2 separate regions of the Homo sapiens genome follow, and region 1 is linked to region 2. The links are contacts of gene promoters, found by promoter capture Hi-C in blood cells and fetal thymus (Javierre and others, 2016). All regions are on one chromosome and are shown on one strand. Each heading gives the region's core, a stretch centred on a gene start or on the middle of the fragment in contact. The rest is flanking DNA. Distances are from core to core; before and after follow the strand shown.

What was found. Contacts are between HindIII fragments. The CHiCAGO score rates a contact against its expected background, and 5 or more counts as called.
Region 1: a fragment that was not itself captured here is called in contact with the fragment with the promoter of WDR64 in region 2 in 4 of 17 cell types (monocytes, activated CD4 T cells, naive CD4 T cells and 1 more); the score reaches 6.5 in monocytes.

What each region holds. Positions count from the first base shown.
Region 1 is chr1:241,510,221-241,514,223 of GRCh38, forward strand. It overlaps FH (fumarate hydratase), which reads right to left. Exons shown (of 10, transcript NM_000143.4): 3 at 3,383-3,493; 4 at 1,747-1,923. Among named protein-coding and RNA genes, the nearest start is that of FH, 7.5 kb to the right of the region's middle. The HindIII fragment of the contact is 1,460 bases long and covers 2,016-3,475 here.
Region 2 is chr1:241,649,443-241,653,722 of GRCh38, forward strand. WDR64 (WD repeat domain 64) reads left to right here and starts at 2,839. Exons shown (of 28, transcript NM_001367482.1): 1 at 2,839-3,187. The coding sequence starts at 3,043. The HindIII fragment of the contact is 1,763 bases long and covers 1,601-3,363 here.

The DNA of each region.
Region 1 (4,003 bases), core at 1,496-3,995, 140 kb before region 2:
AATTCTCCAACAGTTCCTTGAAAAATGGCTGTTTCTAGGGCTGGGGCAGAAACAATACAAGACAATGAGCTTGGAGCATCTTAAAGTACCAGGAAGTCGGAACACACTTCAGAAAAGTAAAAGGATGGTGGCATGCCTAAAAGGACACAAGAGCCAAATGAATTGGGTTCCCAGAGCTGAAAGAATTTAAGCAACAATATAAACAAAAGTATGGGATCATAACCTGAAGAATAAAATAAATAACCATCAGTCCATACTGATATACCCAAATAACTGAATAAATAAATAAATGGGACAGAGAGAACAAATCTTCCTTGCAGAAAAATTCAACTAACAAGTGTAGAATGAATAAAGAAAACTGAAAATCACTATTAAAACACCATGGAAGTAATTGCTGTAGATAAGATTCCCTGATGAATGCTAAAAATAGTAGGAAAAAGTTTAAGGAAAAAGAAGATGTTTGCCTAGCCTCAAGGTAGCGCGCTATTAATTACTACAGTGATTTTAATGTAAGCCCAAAAACTTTTTGATACTCCTCCCTCTAGAAACTGAAATACAGTGCCTGGAATGCAGGCAGGGTTTAGTGACCTATTTCTAATGAACAGGGTATAGAAGAGGAAAAATTATAATTTTACCATGGAGAAACCTGGCAAGTACCAGCTTAACCAAGTGATTAAGGTTAACATCACCAGTAAAAGTCATGTTGCTATCATGAACCCCTGATATGATGCAATGAGAAGGGCCCTTTATTTCTGTGATAGTTTTCTCAAAAATTCAAAAGTCTCAATCTAATGAGAAAACGTCAGACACACCAGAATTGAGGGACATTCTACAAAATACCTGACCACTGCTTTCAAAGTGTCAAGGTCACTGCTATGTGAAATCCTAACCCCTAGGGTAATAGTATTAGGAGATGCGGCCTTTGCAAGGTGATTAGTTCATAGGGCAAAGCTCTCATGAACGGAATTAGTGTCCTTACGAAGAGACCCCAGAGAGCTCCCTTGTCCCTTCTACCATGTGAGGACACAGAAAAGATGGCCATCTACAAACCAAAAAGTGGGCCCCCACCAAGCCAATGAATTGGCCAGTGGCCTGACCTCGGACTTCTAGCTGCCAGAACTGTGACAAATTAACTTCTTCTATTGTTTATAAGCCAGTCAGTCTATTGTATTTTATTACTGCAGCCCCAAAGGACTGAGACAATCGCAAAAGACCAAGAAACTGTCACAGATTAGAAGAAACCAAGGGGACATGTGACTAAATGTAATGTATAGCATTGATTGGATCCTGAAAAAGAACATGAGTGGAAAAACTGAGGAAAGCCTCAGTTTTTTGTTTTTTTTTTAAAGTCTGTTGTTTAGCTAAGAGTACTGTATCTATGTTAATTTCTTAGTTTTGATAAATGTACCATGGTTACATAAGATGTTAACAATAAGGGAAGCTGAGTGAAGGGATATAGAAACTATTTGAACTATCTTTGCAATTCTCTTATAAATCTAAAATTATTTCAAAATAGAGTTTTAAACAATAAAAAAATACATACACTAAATTCAGGTGTCCTAAAAATAATTTTTATAAGGATTGAAACATAAAACCAAGATTCCTTCAAGAAATAAGAACCATAAGAAGCCTTATCCATTAAATAATGAACACTTCTTGTCAAAAAGTGAATGCTTGTTTTACAAGAACAATCTCAGGTATGCTTTTCAATTTATAACCAAAAAACAGCAAAGCTCACATACTGACCTGGCTTTTATTAACATGATCGTTGGGATGCACAGGTATCTTGCTGCCAAGTTCACCTCCTAACATTTCAATTGCTCTATTGCTAATGACTTCATTTACATTCATATTTGTCTGAGTTCCTGATCCAGTCTGCCATACCACGAGAGGAAAATGATCATTTAATTTACCTTCAGCTACCTGCAGAAAAAATGTTAAAAATGTATTTTAAAAAAGGAAATAATAATGCTGATTATGCCACAGAGTTTGAATACAGTTGACCCACATATCTAAGCTTCTGAAGCATCACTTGCTCCAACCACAGATACTTTAAAAAGTGAAATATTATCTATAGTGAATGGTATGACAATTCACTGGTTTCAAATGAAAAGGGAATCAAAGGTATCTTTCTTATCTCTCTCCCACAGCCTCCTCTAACAGAGGACCACCTGTTAAGGCTGGCAAATACGTTTAGTCTCTAGATATATTTGTTGCTGGTGCTCAGCAGGAATATCCAACAGATGTTATTGCCAGAGTCAGCATGCTAATGAGCTAGTAACTTGAAAATGTGAGTTCACTAATAGCTACTTCATTGCACAGATGTCCAATGAGCAGTAATCACCAAATGTAGAAATAAACGCTGCCCAGATTTGCCCCTATTTTTGTTGTATTTTTATACATCCAGCTTATGTGTTAGTTTTTGGATGGTGTGCTTTGTAAAATATGGGTGGTTAACAATCTTCTGGAATGATTTTAGCTTAAAAAATCAGAATGCACTTGAGAAATCTATTACCTTGAACAACTGGTCCACTTTAAAATAAAACTTTTTTCTGGTTATATAAAAATATGTGATTAGTGTAGAAAATTTTGAGAACTGAGAAAAGTAAAACAGTCACTATAGTTCTATTGCTCAGTAATTATGACTATTAGCATGTTGGCATCCCCAGTCTCTATCTCATGCAATGAGGGTGTGTGTGTGTGTGTGTGTGTGTGTGTATATGAGAAACACACACTTTCTGTTCATTTTTTCCTAAACAAAATTAGGATCGTAAAATACATATATTTTTGCAAACTTTCCTCCCTATTTCTCATAGGCTAGGCTTTGTGCATGCCAATCTTCAAAAAAGTAATTTTCTATAATTTACCATATAAATATAATTTATATAAGTAGCTGTTATAGTTACGCATTGTCTAATTTGTTTTCATTATTATAAATAGTGCTGTAATTAACAACACTATATATACAGTTCTGTTACCTCTGATTGCTTCTTTAAGACAATGTTATTAGCATATTAGTAAAATTACATTCTCAATATGCATTATCAAATAATCAACTGGTTTTAAAAAGATTTATATATAAAATAAAAAATCAAGTAAAGTTCAAATGATATCTTTTCAAAAAATTTTCTTAAAACTATATAAATTAAGGAAAGTCAAAAGGCTTAAAAACAAAAGGTATAAAATCATCCAGAAATTTTGTCACAATGTAACGTTTTAAGCACCATATTAATATCACCACTAAAAATAATGCTACCACCCTCCCCTGAAATTCATTAATTCAAGAATTCACAGTTCCCCTTTCCTTCTGCCAGAGCATATCGTCATCCAGAGTATGGCATGGGTCTGAGGTTATTAAGCAAACACACTTATCACCTCCTACCTCATCTGCTGCCTTCATTATTGCATTAGCAATCTTTGGATCAAGACCATAATCCTGGTTTACTTCAGCGGCCGCTCGCTTCAAGATGCCAAAAGCTTTAATAACTGGGGTCTAAAATTAATCAGAAAAATATTTCAAATTTACAATTTTACTTAAGCATGGAAGTTTATTATTTTGGCAGATGCAAAAGCTATACATAAAACAATAACAATAAAACAGTAACACTATAGCTCTAAAATGTTTCGGTTATAGAGAAAGATTATAGACAGGAATTCATGAACCAAGAATCAACATTATCATAGATCTATTTGTTTAAGGAACCAAATAAAAACAAATACATTGACTCTTCATATATATATGTGTGTACGTCTCCCACATACATATACACACATATTCACACGAATACAATCCTATGCACAAATACACACAATAAATTATATGTGTTTATTTCATATACTATAAATAAAAACAAATTTAGTACTCAATCTTTTCACCAGCAAGAACCATTATTTTCTCTTACTGGATCCCACGTTACATTATAATTGTTTCCTTCCCCTCTTAAAAAAATAAATAAATAAGGGATATATTTAACTGCCAATCAGTATGAGACTACCAGTGACT
Region 2 (4,280 bases), core at 1,589-4,088:
AATGGACTAAGACAAACAATATAACATAAAATATAATTATTAAATCTAAACAATGAACAATAATTTATTATTATCATCAAATATCTACTTGGCGTTCCAATTTCCAATTGTCTCATGTATTTTAAACTCTTTTTAAGTTTGGTTGTTGAGTCAAGATCTAAATACAGTCCACACACTGTGGTTGGATGGTGTTTCTTTAAAGTCCTTTTTAATCTATAGCTCCCCTCCTCCTTCCTTTTGTCTTCCTATGCAATTTCTTTATTGAATAAACTGGATTATCCATCCAGTGGCTCTTTCCTTTTCAAAACAGCTTTTCTTCTTGGCTTCTAGGATGATCCTTTCTCTTGGTTCTCCTTGTACCTCACTAGCCACTCCTATTTACTCAGTGGTTCTTCTTGATCACTCTGCCCTCCCAACACTGGCATGCTCAGGGTTTGATCCTCACCTTGCCTTCTTCTTTATCTGCATTGATTCCCAGGTGATCTCATCCAGCCTAATGGCTTTAAATACAATGCCGTCTGAATGCTGATGACTCCCAAGCTCTCCCCTGAACCCTGGATTCTTACGTCTGGTTATTCAACATCCACAATTGTTTATCTAATAGAATTCTCAAACTTAACATATCCTGAACTGAATCCTAATTTCCCCCACTCCCCACAATCTGCTCCTTCTATTGGATTCCTCCCTCCCAAACATAGGAAATTATAATTCCATCCTTTTGATTTCTTAGGGCCAGGATCCCTGGAGTTGTCCCTGATCCTTCTCTTGCTCTCATACCCCCATCTGATCTATTAGCACACCTGTCACATCTACCTTCACACAATCTGACCACTTCGCACAACCTCCGTCACTAGTGCCCTAATCTCAACCACTGTCATCTCTTACTTGCATTACTGAAATTTCCACTTAACTGCCTTCCCGGCTTCTACCCTCTCTCCCTTTCAGTTTATTCTCCGCAAAGCAGCTGGAATGATTCTTTTCAAATGCACGTCAGATCATGTCACTGTTCTGCTCAAAAACATCCCATCTCAGAGTAAAAGCCAAAGTCCTAAAACAGCCAATAAGATCCTACGTGATCTGGATGCCACCCCCTGACTCTCTTGCCTTCTCTCTCTACCTCTCTCTCTCATCCCACACCACCTCAGTCACACTGGCCTCTGTCGTTTCTCAGATATGTGAAGCACACACCAATCTCAGGACTTTACGCCTGCTGTCCCTAGAACATCCTTCTACCATTTATCCACATGACTTGCTACCTCACTTCTTTCAGGTTTCTGCCCAGAAATCTTTCTATTAATGGGGAATTCCCTGATCTCCCTACCTCTTTTACTTTGATTTTTACCCCCACCCTAATACACACAAAATTCCTCTCTCTTCGTAGCACAATTGCTCACTGATACATTATTTATTTGTTTGTCTGTCTTCTGCATTAGTCTATAAACTTGAGAAGCTATTTTATTCACTGCTGTATCCTTAGTGTCTAAAACAGCCTCTAGCATGAAGTGTGTATTCAGTAAATATTTCCTAGATGAATTAATGGTGAATGCATTAGAATTGTAGGAAGAGTGGTTCTCCAGACATCACTGTACAGTGGTTTGAAAGCTTTAAAGGAAAAAGGAGGAGAAACAAATGGGGTTGGGGGATTTTTCTTTAAATAAAATCTTACTGCGCTCTCCTAACAGATAGTTAGAGGTGGACACCAAGAAGACAGTACTGGAATTGGAGGTGCTCTGAAATGCCATCTGCTTCATCTCTGAATGCAAGTTCTTGAAGAATGTTTTAAAAGATGGACTACCAAGGGGTAGGAAATTTATCTAACTCACCTAAGCCATAGGAAGTTAACTAATTGTTGAGAAACATTAAACAACTTCTCCTTCCCATAAAAAGTTGAAAATTGGAAAACCGGAGTCAATAGCATTTGGACTAAGTCGGATTGGAGATTGCAATGACTGGGAAGGAGATGTGCAGAAAGGCCTCTTCTAATTCATCTGACCTCTTACCTTGAAAAGCTGTCCTCATAATCAGAAGCCACTCCTTCCTTATCCTTGGCTCACTTTATTATTTCAATCGAAGGACAATGCACAAAGGAAGAAGAGCATTTGTATTCCCTATGACCTCTAAAAATGTTTGTGGTAGAAATGACAGGTGCTGAAATACATTTCATCTTTAGAAGTTCGAATTTCCATATCCAGTACAGTGGCAAGAATAAGTGTGAATATTACTTTTTTTTTTTTTTGAGAGGAAGTCTCACTCTGTCACCCAGGTTGGAGTGCAGTGGTGTGATCTCAACTCACTGTAACCTCTGACTCCCAGGTTCAAGTGATTCTCTTGCCTCAGCCTCCTGAGTAGCTGAGATCACAGGTGCCCGCCACCACATCCAGCTAATTTTTGTATTTTTAGTAGAGACGGGGGTTTCACCATGTTGGCCAGGCTGGTCTTGAACTCCTGACCTCAGGTGGTCCACCCACCTCGGCCTCCCAAAGTGCTGGGATTACAAGAATGAGCCGCCGTGCCTGGCCAAACTTTACTTTCCGCGGTATTGTGAGGAAGGCAAAAGGTTTGAGGTGAGAAGAGATACACGAGGGAGAAAGTATTACCCAGTTTTCTTACTTGTTATTTACTCATTCCTTTTCCCTCTCAAGCAGTATACACAACACACACATGTGCACGCGCACACACACACACAGTCTGTGGGGAAAAAAATATCTCAATCTCCTCCTTATGAAGGAAGTAGGATGTTACAGAGATATTATGATGCAATGAGGACCCTATGAAGGACACTGATGACATTGTGAGGTCAGGATTTTTACTGAAATGTTTGTCTGTATGAAATGCATCAGACCTAAATCAGCTTTCCTCCCTGCTAACATCCTAGTGGCAACTCTTACTCCTACCCGCACTATGGGATTTTAAGATCAAAGGAATTAGACCTAGGGCAAAAACTGAGACAGCAGGGAGGCACTGTAACAACTGGAAAGTTTTCCAAATTGGTAAACTTGCAGTATTCTTTCTGTACAGAAGTAAAAGATCCCCTATGTCCCTATGGATATCAGGAAGGAAAAGCGTCTCAACATGGCACTTCAGATGAGCAATTTCAAAAAGGCTTTGAACAGGTTTGAAAAATTGGTTGAACAAACAGCAGCCCAGAAAAGAGATGAAAGAGCAGGCTTATTTATCCATAAAGAAGGTAAGATCAGTGATTACACGATAGTCCAATTGGGTCTGTTGGTTAGAACTGGAAAATGTTTTAAGCCATCAGAGAGAAGCATCAGAGCTTAATGTGAAAGAATGGGTGCTGAAAGGGGATGAAGACCTCAGTTCTTGTTCTTTCTCTGTCCCTAAATAACAAAGCGGACATGAGGAAGCTTTTGTTTTGTTTTGTTTTTGTTTTTGTTTTTTTTTTTTACTTCTCTGAACCGAAGTTGCTTCAATTGTAAAACTATGGGATTGGATTAAATGACGTCCAGTGTTCTTCTGTAGACGCTGCCATTTGATGGCTCACTGGTTGACCTGGGATGCTCAGTAATGTATAGCACTGCTTTTTCTTAGCCTAAAGATATCATGAGACCATAAAGACTTTCATAAGAAGTGCAGCTTCCTGCCTCACCATGATTCCATTGTCTTGGCCACTCTCCATATCTCTAGGCAGGAATGATCTTGAGGATGCAAGCTAAGGAGAATATGGTGGACAGTGGTCTTACAGGAGGATTTGCAGCAGAGATGCCAGTGCATAGACAAGATTCAAGGGGAGTGGTGTAGTGTACAGCTTTGGCGTATTGAGGACAGCTGTGAAAAATAAAGCTACATGGCAGAGTGAAAGACTAACAGAACAAACCCTGCTGTTGCAATGAAAGGAGCAGAGCCCATATAATTGCTAAAGGGATAGTATAGCCAGCCTCTGAGTGTGCCAGGCTGCATAGTAATTTGTAAGTGAAAATCTTGACTTTGGGTGTTCAAACCCAAGCTGGTATTAATTGAATAGTATTTAATAATTTATAGTCATGTTAATCAATGTCATTATGTTCATTTTATTTGTGGAAAAAATGGGAGCTGAAGATAAATCATTTGCCCAAGTTACCCAAATTCTTTTCTTTTCTTTTCTTTTTTTTTTTTTTTCTGAGACGGAGTTTCATTCCTATTGCCCAGGCTGGAGTGAAATGGTGCGATCTCGGCTCTCTGCAACCTCTGCCTCCCAGGTTCAAGTGATTCTCCTGCCTCAGCCTCCCAAGTAGCTGGGATTACAGGCACCCACCACCACACCCGGCTAATTTTTTGTATTT